Linked DNA regions of Homo sapiens: regions 1, 2 and 3 are each linked to region 4. The links are contacts of gene promoters, found by promoter capture Hi-C in blood cells and fetal thymus (Javierre and others, 2016). All regions are on one chromosome and are shown on one strand. The core of a region is centred on a gene start or on the middle of the fragment in contact, and the rest is flanking DNA. Distances in the headings are between cores, read along the strand shown.

Evidence for each region. The method cuts DNA at HindIII sites, captures the fragments that hold promoters and counts their contacts. A CHiCAGO score of 5 or more calls a contact.
Region 1: a contact is called between a fragment that was not itself captured here and the fragment with the promoter of PSMD5 in region 4, in 8 of 17 cell types (naive CD4 T cells, naive CD8 T cells, non-activated CD4 T cells and 5 more). The highest score is 12.5, in naive CD4 T cells.
Region 2: a contact is called between a fragment that was not itself captured here and the fragment with the promoter of PSMD5 in region 4, in 1 of 17 cell types (neutrophils). The highest score is 6.4, in neutrophils.
Region 3: a contact is called between a fragment that was not itself captured here and the fragment with the promoter of PSMD5 in region 4, in 5 of 17 cell types (naive CD8 T cells, naive CD4 T cells, total CD4 T cells and 2 more). The highest score is 9.7, in naive CD8 T cells.

What each region holds. Positions count from the first base shown.
Region 1 is chr9:121,201,551-121,204,250 of GRCh38, forward strand. RAB14 (RAB14, member RAS oncogene family) reads right to left here and starts at 319. Exons shown (of 8, transcript NM_016322.4): 1 at 89-319. It also overlaps a transcript of GSN not described here and the pseudogene RN7SL181P. RefSeq lists a silencer at 1-240 and enhancers at 1-432, 251-470, 741-900. The HindIII fragment of the contact is 7,258 bases long and covers 1-2,700 here.
Region 2 is chr9:120,573,714-120,576,413 of GRCh38, forward strand. All of the region lies in intron 1 of CDK5RAP2 (CDK5 regulatory subunit associated protein 2), which reads right to left. Among named protein-coding and RNA genes, the nearest start is that of CDK5RAP2, 5.1 kb to the right of the region's middle. The HindIII fragment of the contact is 1,838 bases long and covers 394-2,231 here.
Region 3 is chr9:121,156,057-121,158,756 of GRCh38, forward strand. It overlaps CNTRL (centriolin), which reads left to right. Exons shown (of 44, transcript NM_007018.6): 28 at 1,414-1,544; 29 at 1,684-1,824; 30 at 1,927-2,053. Among named protein-coding and RNA genes, the nearest start is that of RAB14, 44 kb to the right of the region's middle. The HindIII fragment of the contact is 9,656 bases long and covers 1-2,700 here.
Region 4 is chr9:120,841,563-120,844,262 of GRCh38, forward strand. It overlaps PSMD5 (proteasome 26S subunit, non-ATPase 5), which reads right to left and starts at 1,360. Exons shown (of 10, transcript NM_005047.4): 1 at 1,175-1,360. The coding sequence starts at 1,347. It also overlaps the pseudogene CUTALP. RefSeq lists enhancers at 981-1,510, 1,082-1,381, 1,269-1,563, 1,329-1,623, 1,582-1,931. The HindIII fragment of the contact is 10,742 bases long and covers 1-2,700 here.

The sequences.
Region 1 (2,700 bases), core at 176-2,675, 360 kb after region 4:
AGTCTCCACCGTCCCCACACACGCCCCTCTGAAGAACCCGGCGCGAGGAGGTATCAGCCGGCCGGACACTACGGAAGGCCCGGGTTACCTGGGGGGTTGCTGGTGGCTGGGCAGCTTTCCGGGCGGGAGGGGGGCGTCAGGACCAGGAACAGGAGTGCGGACGCAGCGGGAGAGGGGGCGGGGGCGGTCGACCGAGGCGCCGGCAGGTACACTGGCAGGCCGAGAGGTGCAGACGCGCCGGCAGCAGTAGCGGCAGTAGCAGTGGCAGCGGTGACTGCTCCTGTGCTCCCTCAGTATCTTCCTCGGGCTGGTCCAAGATGGCGGCGCTCCCTGCACAGGGTTTCCTGTCACCCTCGCAATGGGCCGGACCACAAAAGAAGGGGGAGAAGATGCGCGCGCAGCTGGCGGAGCCCGGAAGAGGGTGGCTGAGGCCAGCCCGCTAGCCACGCCCCTTCCTCAGCCCTCACCTCTGGACTTGTCGCGCCGCCGCTGAGGCCCGCCCCACGGGCGCTCGCGCCCGGAGGGAAGGTGGAAAGCGCGTATGCGCAAGCGCAGTCGCGTGTCCTCGCCTCTTGGGGGAGCTACTGCGCAGGTCTGCGTGGAACCTGGTGGGGTGCGCCTGCGTCTTGGAGAACTAGGGTTGTCGCTCGTGGAGACTTTTGAACAATTTTTAAAGCCAACATTTACCACTTATTGGACGCTTACCGTATACTGGCCACCATGCTAAGCATGCATTTACTGCATTCATTCAACGTGTATTTATGGGGGCATTTACTGTATATACCGCTGTATGCTTCGTATATACCGGTCCTGTCCAACAAACGTCGGAGGCACGCATCCCCATTGTATCCATGGAGAAACTGAGGCTCAGGTTGGTCAACTCTCTTGTCCAAGATCACGCAGCTAGGAAGTGACCCTGCATTTCATCTCTATTTTGACTTCACTTTGGGGTTGCCTTTGACAGGGTGAGAGAAATGTGATATTTTTCACAATTTGTCTACCACCTGCCATCTTCCAACTTGCTCTGCCATAATCACTGCCCCAGAAGGTTTCGTGCTTTTCGGGTGCAGGGACACGTTTTGACTTTCTTGGACCCTGAGCACTTTTGCCTTGTGGCTTGTACATTACACACACACATATATTTCACACACATGTAAGTTAAATATATGTATAAATATTTAACATATTTTACAACTGCATTGATATAAACATGACGTATCAATATTATATAACAAAATATTTTCTCTGACCTGAAAGTTCATTTTTTTCTTCTGACTTTAAAAGAATGTAAGCCGGCCGGGCGCGGTGGCTCACGCCTGTAATCCCAGCACTTTGGGAGGCCACGACGGGCGGATCACGAGGTCAGGAGATCGAGACCATCTTGGCTAACACGGTGAAACCCCGTCTCTACTAAAAATACAAAAAAATTAGCCGGGCGTGGTGGCGGGCGCCTGTAGTCCCAGCTACTCGGGAGGCTGAGGCAAGAGAACGGCGTGAACCCGGGAGGCGGAGCTTGCAGTGAGCCGAGATCGCGCCACTGCGCTCCAGCCTGGGCAACAGAGCGAGACTGTCTCAAAAAAAAAAAAAAAAGGAACGTAAGCAAGGAGGGCTGGTAGTCTGCGCCTGTAATCCTAGCTACTGGGGAGGCTGAGGAGAGAGGATCGCTTGAGCCCAGGAGTTCTGGGCTGTAGTGCACTGTGTCACTAGATAGAGTGTCTGCACTTAAGTTCAGGAGGGAGGGACCACCCAGGTTGCCTAAGGAGGGATGAACCGGCCCAGGTCGGAGATGGAGCAGGTCAAAACTCCCGTGCTGATCAGTAATGGGATCATACCTGTGAACAGCCACTGCACTCCAGCCTGGGCAACATGGGGAGACCCTGTCTCTAAAATAAATAAATATTCATTTTTGTTGGCCCCTAAAAGTATTGGAGGCCCTAAGCCCTGTGCATACTGTACTGTGCCTAATGGATAAGGTGGCCCTGCCTTAGTTCCCCACCCCCAAATTAAATCAATCTTTCTCTTAGCGTTCAGGACCTTTTATGAACTGGTTCTGCCATGAACAAGTGAGATTTCACTGTAAAAGTGTGTGCCAGTTTGTACATCTCATATTTTCAGAGACCTGGGTTCGAATTCCTGCTCTATAATCTAATGGTATGCAGTTGTGCATGTCACTTGATTTCTGAGATTGTCAGTCTTTTCTGCAATATGAAAATAGTAATATCTCTCTCAAATAGGTCTTTGTGAAAATTAAATGGGATAGTATATGCAAAATATCTGGTATATAATAAGAAATGGAAATGATTATTACATGATAATCTAATCTAAGGTGATATTGAAATCCTTTTGCAACCCTAGAGGTCTAGGCTTCTATTTCCACATTCTTTAATAAGTATAGTTTGTTGTCACACTTTAACATTTTTGAAACTAAGAAATTTGCCTGTGCCAAGTAAAGGAGAAAACTGTGAACCAATGATCATTAATTGCCCAGGTATGAACTTAGACCTGGCTAGTAAGTTTCCTTATAGCCATTATCACCTGAAGGGAGATCTTTATGTATAGCTGATGTTTATTCAACACTTACTATGTACCAGCAACTGTCCTAAGAATCATGCATATTTTCTCATTTAATCCTTACCACATCCGCATGAAGTCAGTACTATATTTACCCCATTTTATGAATGAAAAAACTGAGTGTCATAC
Region 2 (2,700 bases), core at 63-2,562, 270 kb before region 4:
CAAAGGAAATATACTGAAATATTAAAAATCATCATTAGTAGGGAAATGAGAGGTTTTCTTCCTTTTTAATGTTATATAATTCTCAATTTCCTCCAATAAACATCACTAAAAGGACAAAGTCAATTTTCTAAACTGAATTTTAAAAACTAAAATCAAGTTCAACCATCACCTTTTGCAGATGGTGGTCCAGAAGCCCAAGGTCACATACACCAGGTTATTGGCCAAGCTCAGCCTAAGGTCTGGTCCTGCATTCTCAATCTGGGGTTCTCTCCGGGTACCAGAGCCATTACATTAACTCCCACTGGCTAAAACTGCCCATGAATAACTCAAGCCAAGATCAATCACAGCTGAAAAGTACCTAGCAAACAAAGCCAAAGATTCTGGTCTTAGACAAGCTTCCTACAGGCAAACACTGAAGTTTGAAAAATGACATCTGACATCCCAACTCTTAGACAAAACCACTATGTAATGCAGAAATTTTTGCTTGGATCCTGCCAAATTTCCACTCGGGCTTTACCTACCCACTTTTAAAATGCTATGAATCTGTCATCTGCACCCTCCAGTCAGTTCCAACTACACCTCCAGCCACAAGCAGCTCCCTCTTTCCATTCTAATCATTCACTTGTAGCCTTATAATTAAGGCTGGGGCCTCAGGGATACTCACGAGAAATGACAATGTAAGCAAAACAAAAGGGCTCAGATATGATCTTATTCCACAGATGAGAAGACTGAAACCCAGAAATGGGTTAGGAACTTATTTACTCAAAATCACAAAAGTTAGTGGCAAAGCCAAGCCCAAAATCCAGGATCCCAGTGTCTTTTCCACTTGCTAGCCTGTGTGTGGACTGCCCAAAGCTCCTATATAAATGTGACACATGGTGGAGTACCAGTTTCCTCACGTGCAAAATAAAGCACAATCTAAGAAACCTGCCCTTGTATGGGGCACCCATGCTGCACAAGCACCACACTCAGCACAGGACAGGCAGCCTTCCCTTTCATCCTCACCACAGGATTAAAGTCCATTTTCTAAACTGAATGTTTGAAACTAAAATCAGGTTTAATCCTCACTATAGTCTTTCTGCGGCTGGTGGTACTTTTTAATGTTGCCTTTTTTTTTTTTTTTTTTAATGAGGAAACAAAGACCAAAAAGTTAATAGGCTGGAAACTCCAAGCCAGCCTGACTTTAAACCCCCTGCTGTGAACCTACACCACCCTGGTACCCCTGACGCCTTCCCGGAGGTTGGGGGTGGCAGGGGTGTGGTGGTGGTTAAGGGCCGAATGGACTGAGGCATAAAATTTCCATCACTCAGCACAGGGCACAGCCATCATAACGACTGTTTTGTTTTGTTTTGGTTTTTTGGAGACTCTCACTCTATCGCCCAGGCTGGAGTGCAGTGGCGTGATCTCAGCTCATTGCAACCTCCACCTTCCATATTCAAGCGATTCTCGTGCCTCAGCCTCCCAAGTAGCTAGGATTACAGGCATGCACCACCACGCCCGGCTAATTTTTTGTACTTTTAGTAGAGATGGAGATTCACCACGTTGGCCAGGCTGGTCTTGAACTCCTGAGCTCAGGTGACCTGACCGCCTCAGCCTCCCAAAGTGCTAGGATTACAGGCGTGAGCCACCGCGCCCAGCTGTAGCAACTGTTTGTGGATAATTTTTGAGTGACTGAATGGACCTTCACCTGAGCTCCACCACCTCATCCTCCTATCTTGCTCTATTGCTACCGAAAAGGACTGACCTCTTTCTATGCCTACATATGCCAGCAACAATTGTCCACTCAAACCATAAGACCCAAGGGGTCTTATGTCTCCTTGACAAATTGTTTCATGAGAGTCATGGATGAGACCAGATATCACATTCTGACAACGATTACACAAACAAACTCACTTTTGTCTTTTAACAACCCCTTTTTCATTCTATTTTATTCTTAATTAGAGAAAAATACATAAATTTAAAAAAATACAGATAAGCCTAAAGTTCTCCTTGGCTCCTCCTCGCTCCCATCTAGAACCCGCCTAGGAGGTAATCACTGTTTTCAAAAAGACCTATAACTTCCAGAACTTTTTATGTGTTTTTACATAGATAGTTTCAATTTTGCTGCTTAAAAACACATGCAATCAAACAGTATACATCATGCTACAACATCCTTCTTCTACTTAATATGCCCTCATGATGTTTTCATGACAGTACAAATAGATATGCCTCAAAGTTTTCAACTCCTACAAAGCTTTCTACAGCAGTGTTCTTCAAACCTTACTGACCATGAGCCACAGAAGAAATATTATTACCCTTCATCCTTGAAATGTTTTCTATTCTGTTCTATTTTTCTAAATCCTGGTTGCAACCTACTAAATTGAATTTCATGAGCTACCAACGGGCCACAGTCTGAAAGATACTTTTGAAAGGATGTGTATTTACCCAATCCCCTACTGATGATAATTCAATTTGTTTCCAAGTTTTTCTTTTACATGCAATGTCATATGAATGTCCTTATAAGGTCCCATATGCACAAGTATGAGGATTTCTCTAGAATAGATGACAAGAAGTGGAATTGCTGGGTCAAAATATATTCACGTTTTTTAAATGGACGATGGATTTGAATACACATTTCTCCAAAGAAAGTGAACAAATGGCTAAAAGGCACATGGAAAGATGCTCAACACATCAGTAGCCATTAACATGTAATCAATACCA
Region 3 (2,700 bases), core at 157-2,656, 310 kb after region 4:
TGTGAGAGAAAATAGATGTGAGCAGAACTAGAGGAAAAAAAATCACTGGTATAATAATATATAATAAGATATTTTGATAATATATCAAAATATCACTGGTATATTTTGATTATAAATTTTGGTATATTTTGGTTATATATTAATATATATAGGTATAGATATATAAAATCATCAAAAGAAAATTGATGGCAGTGGTAGTAGGCAGAGGTAGTAAGTCAACCAAGGCTGGTAAGTTCTTTCACCTTCATCCTCCCAAAATGACTCAGGGAGGCAGCTTGGTAAGAAGGAGGAGGAGAGAGAAAGTAGTGGTGTTTTGGAAGGAGTGTGCCAGACATGTTAAAACCTGACATAGAAGGAGACAAAAAACTATTTGGTGGCTTTTCTGGAATGCATAGCCAGTTTTATCCAGTGCTTTGCTGGTGAAACTGACAGAAACAAGCTATCTGAAATGGAAAGACGTATGGTAAAATATGTAGCTCTCTGGGAGCTTGCCAACCCTTTTGCATCCACACAGATATTTAATAGGCAAATTTAACATACGGACTCCTCTGGCTTTAGTACAATGGCAGACTTCAGTTTTTTTTGGCTGAAGGTGAGTCACTGCTCAACCAAGTGCAAACCACACTCTATTTATTTTTGGAACTTTTGATGTCATTGTTTTAAGCATCTTATGTTAGGCAGAAAAAGAAACCAAGTTGATTAAAACAAATGTGTTTTTACCAAATCTTATATAGGAAGATTTTAAACATTTGCAAAGTATTTAATGTTTGTGTTTGTCAGCCGTAATTACATTATCACCAGATCAATGCATTTTTACTTCGCTTGATAATAACTATAGAGTGCAGCAAGAATTTCTGTGTGGAGGAAATCTTGGTAAAATCACTTCCTTCCCACTTAGTTGGGTAGATAGTTTTAATATTTAAAATGATATAATAGTATTACAGATTATTTTGAAATAAAAAGCATCTTTAGTTCCACTACTTTCAAATGACTGTATTTATTTTTATATAGTCTTTCTGTCTTTGTTGACACATGTAGTTTTACACAGTTGCTCTCACAGTGCTTATACCATTTTAAATTTATTTTTCTCAGCCAACATAATATTAACATTCTTCCGTGTTGCTACATTGTCATCTGATCATTTGAAAGGCTACACAGTATTCCACTTTGTTAATGCATTATCACTTAGCCTATTATTATTTGTCAGGTCTTATATTATTATACATTGAGCATTTTTATATAGTAGTTCTTTGCTTCTGAATTATTTACCGAGAATTAGAGTTACAGTGAATGGACATTTTTATGTCTTTCTGTACCATCTTGTTTTCCAAAAGAGCTGTACTGGTTTACATGGCCAGTAGCTGTGAGTGAGTATTGTAACTGAATGGCTTTTAATGACAGTTTCTTTTCTAGACAAAAAATGCTGTTGAAAAGTTCACTGATGCCAAGAGAAGTTTATTGCAAACTGAGTCAGATGCTGAGGAATTAGAAAGGAGAGCTCAGGAAACTGCTGTTAACCTCGTCAAAGCTGATCAGCAGCTAAGGTAGGTGGATTCCCTAAGCCGTTGATGTATACATTGAGATGAATGAAAAGTTTGCTTCTAAGGGGATAATAATTGGTTTATGATAAATAATGCATGGTAAGTCTACAGGACCTGGGGGGAATAAAGCAATGTGCTTTAGATCGCTCCAGGCTGATGCAAAGGATTTGGAGCAGCACAAAATCAAGCAAGAAGAAATCTTGAAAGAAATAAACAAAATTGTAGCAGCAAAAGACTCAGACTTCCAATGTTTAAGCAAGAAGAAGGAAAAACTGACAGAAGAGTAAGTAAGGCCTCTGTAGGGCTACAAGGGGTTTGTGCTGGAAGACAGCTCTGGGGTTCCGAGTCCCTTAGGATCTGCTCTAGTGTTGCTGGTGCTTTGTAGGCTTCAGAAACTACAGAAAGACATAGAGATGGCAGAACGCAATGAGGATCACCACCTGCAGGTCCTTAAAGAATCTGAGGTGCTTCTTCAGGCCAAAAGAGCCGAGCTGGAAAAGCTGAAAAGCCAGGTATGGCAATAGACACCTTGAAAAAACAACTGACACAGCACTTTATGATTATAAAAGTAATACATGTTTAATTGTAGAAAAGAATAAATGCGGCTATGTATTATAGTTGTTAAGCATGAAGTCTGAACTAAATTTGAATCCCAACTCAATACAATACTTCTGAATAAAAAAAGTGGGTCTCAAAACATGGTATACTCTATGAGATCATTTCTGTTAAATGCCTTTATCAACACTTATGGTTGTATTTTTAGTCAATACCAAAGTACAAAAGTGGTCATCTGATAAGGGGGGATTTTGAGTATTTTCTGTTGTCTTCCTTTTGCATATCTGCATGGTCTTCTTTTTTTTTTGTAAACAAATACGTATTGTCTTTAAAATTGCAACGAATTTTTAATTTTAAAAATGAATACATTTTAAAAATCTCTGACTAACTTCCATCACCAAGGATGTCAAAATGGAATTAGGGTATAAAAATAAAAGTTCTTGGAAAACTGTAACCTGAGGGATGATCATGATTATCATATTGTTGTTCTTACTGTGATCACTGTGATTTGAGTGGTTTTAAGTATGTGAGCTCAAGGTTTTCATTAGGCATTTCACCCTTGCACTCCTTGCCTGGCTTTTCTGACTCTTGGGGGCTAGGATAT
Region 4 (2,700 bases), core at 110-2,609:
AGCGAGACTCGTCTGAAAACAAACAAACAAACAAAACAAAACAAAACAAAACACAGAGATCTTTCCATGTCCACATACATATATATACATCTACCTCAATAACTTAAATAACTGCACAGTGTTACAGAGTAATAGCGCATAATTTGGAATCCTCTGTTAACGGATATTTAGATTGTTTCTAGTGTTCTGGTGCCACACACGATATGTTATATTCTTGCATATAATGTTGTAGGGTCCTCCAGTCGCCCCCTTTCTTTCTCTGTCCTGATGGAAAATCAGAGTGCCTTGATTGCTCTCTGACCTAGCCAGCGGCAGGTTTCCCTAGCAGGCTTGACCATAAACCAGGGGCCTTGAACATTCACAGGCCTGATAAAGGTACCTAGGTTGTTGCCCAAAACACTGGAAGAAACTGGCCTCAACCCTGAGCCAAATTCCTTTAAACTCTCATCTGAACTCCATACCCTGACCCCCTCACTGCGGACATACCCAGGAACACCTTTCTCCCGGTGTCCGTCTTGACAATTTCTGCAGCCCTCTGCAGGTTTCCCCCTAAACGCTTTTGGACTGATCGCCTTGGCATTCAGTGCTTCTTTTTCTGTCATCCCAACCAGCCACATCTCGGGAAGGTTTGAAGCACTCCCTCGTGGGAACTCTCTTGCCGCTGCTTTTGGGGCGATTCCAGCCTCGGGTTCGAAAGAACAAAGTAACTGCACATTTTGTGCGCGTATACTTGCATTAAATTTTTTTAACAAGAATGACTGGATGAAAAAGCATGTGAATTTAAAATGCTGATGGTTCTTGCCACATTGCCAGGATAGGATCCTTTTAGAAGGGGAAACAAATCAAGAACCTGTACAAAGAGATGTGGAATGCTCCTTGTAAGTGGACAGCTTTGCTTTCCTCCTTTAATTTCTATTTGATGAAGAAGGCAGTGCCTCACTGCTCAGAGGCAGCGAGGCCAGGCGACGGGAGAAAACACCCTGGGGCACTCTCAGAGGCTGAACCTGAACCCCATCTCCTGCCTCTGAACCCAGGATCCTTCCTTCTCTGCAAATTTCGGCTACTTTCCACCTCCCCTGTGACTGGGAAAAGCGCTGTTCTTGCCCTCAACCACTCTCATGTCCATATTTAGGGGTGCCCCTCTCCTCGGCTCAAGCCCCCGGGGTCCTCTCACCTATGGTTCTCGTTAAGCAGGGAGAAGAGCGGGCCGAGGCGCAGCTCCGCCGCTTGCTGGCGAAGCTCGTTGAGCGGCACTGCCTGCAGCACGGAGTGAAGCGCGCGTAGCTCCTCCAGCGGCGCTTCCAGCCTCGCTACCTCTCTCAGCAGCGCCAAAGCCTGGGCTGCCATCTTGCCCCCCGACGCAGGGGCTGGCCCAGCGGCCCAGTTCCCGGGGCGCTTTCCTGAACCTCGCGAGATCTGATCACAGCCTCCTTGTCCCTGAGATGGCTATGGGGCTGCCAAGCCTCGCGAGAAGCCTCCGTTAGGGCCGTGTCAACTGTAGCCAGTGGTTGCGGCTCCCTCAGTCTGGCGTCATCTAGGTCGCTGCTCAGGGAAATGCGGAGGCCAGTAGGCTTACGTGTTTACCGCGTAGGGCAAAGCCTTGCCAAATTCCCGGCCAGCGGAGCGGCGAGGGTGGGGACTCACGGGAAGTTAAACAGCCTCGTCGGCGTCCTCGAGGCTCCAAAACCAGGCTCTAGGCGGGGACGACTGCAGCCGTTATGGAGGCCACCGCGGCTACGGCCGCGGCTGAGGCCTCCCCAGGTGGAGCGGTGGCCTGGAGGGGAATCTTGATCCTGGGCCAGCCACCTGTCAAGAGGAGGCGGAGCGTCATGCCTCTGGAAGACTGGATGAATATTCTCCAGGAGCCTGACGAAGGCGTGAGTAATAGGGACGTGCGCCGCCTTGTTGGTGTTGATCAGTCCACCAAGGAGAAGCAGCTGGTCGCAGTGGCCGTACCTGTAATCCCAGCGCTTTGGGAGGCCGCGGCGGGAGGATCGCTTGAGCCCGGGAGTTCGAGACCAGCCTGGGCAACATAGTGAGAAACCCGTCTCTACCAAAAAGAAAAAAAAAAAAAAAGGAAAAAAATTAGTGCGGTGTGGTGGCACGCACCTGTAGTCCCAGCTACTCGGGAGGCTGAAGCGGGAGGGTCCCCTAAGTCTAGGAGGTCGAGGCTTCAGTGAGCGGTGATTGTGCCACTGCACTCCAGCCTGGGCGACAGAGCAAGACCCTGCTTTCCCCTCTTGTCCTCCACTACCCTCAGGAAACCAAGAAAGACCAGCGTGGAGAGTTGGTCGCCCATCTGCTCTAAGCTGCTGTGTATTCCCCTGTAATGTAAACATCGTGAAGGTGGAGACCCAGTTAACCTTTTAGGTGGAAGGCCAGATGACAGAGGGCGGCATCTGACCCGGAAGGCCCTCTGCAACCAGGCCAAATACATCTACAGGGAACCAATGGGAAACATCTGGGGAGGACAACCCAAATAAGTATCATGCGAGCAAGGGATGGTTTGAGAACTTTAAAAATCGCTGCTGTTTTGCAACATACGAAGTTGATGGGGAGGAAGGACCCTTAAATCCTGAGTGGGTATCGAGTATTCCAAGCAACTGGAGAGAGGCTTTGTGCCTCAACAGGTCTTCAACGCCAAGGAGATGACCCATCTTTTGCAGTGCATGCCTTCCTACTTTTGGGGCAAAAGACAAA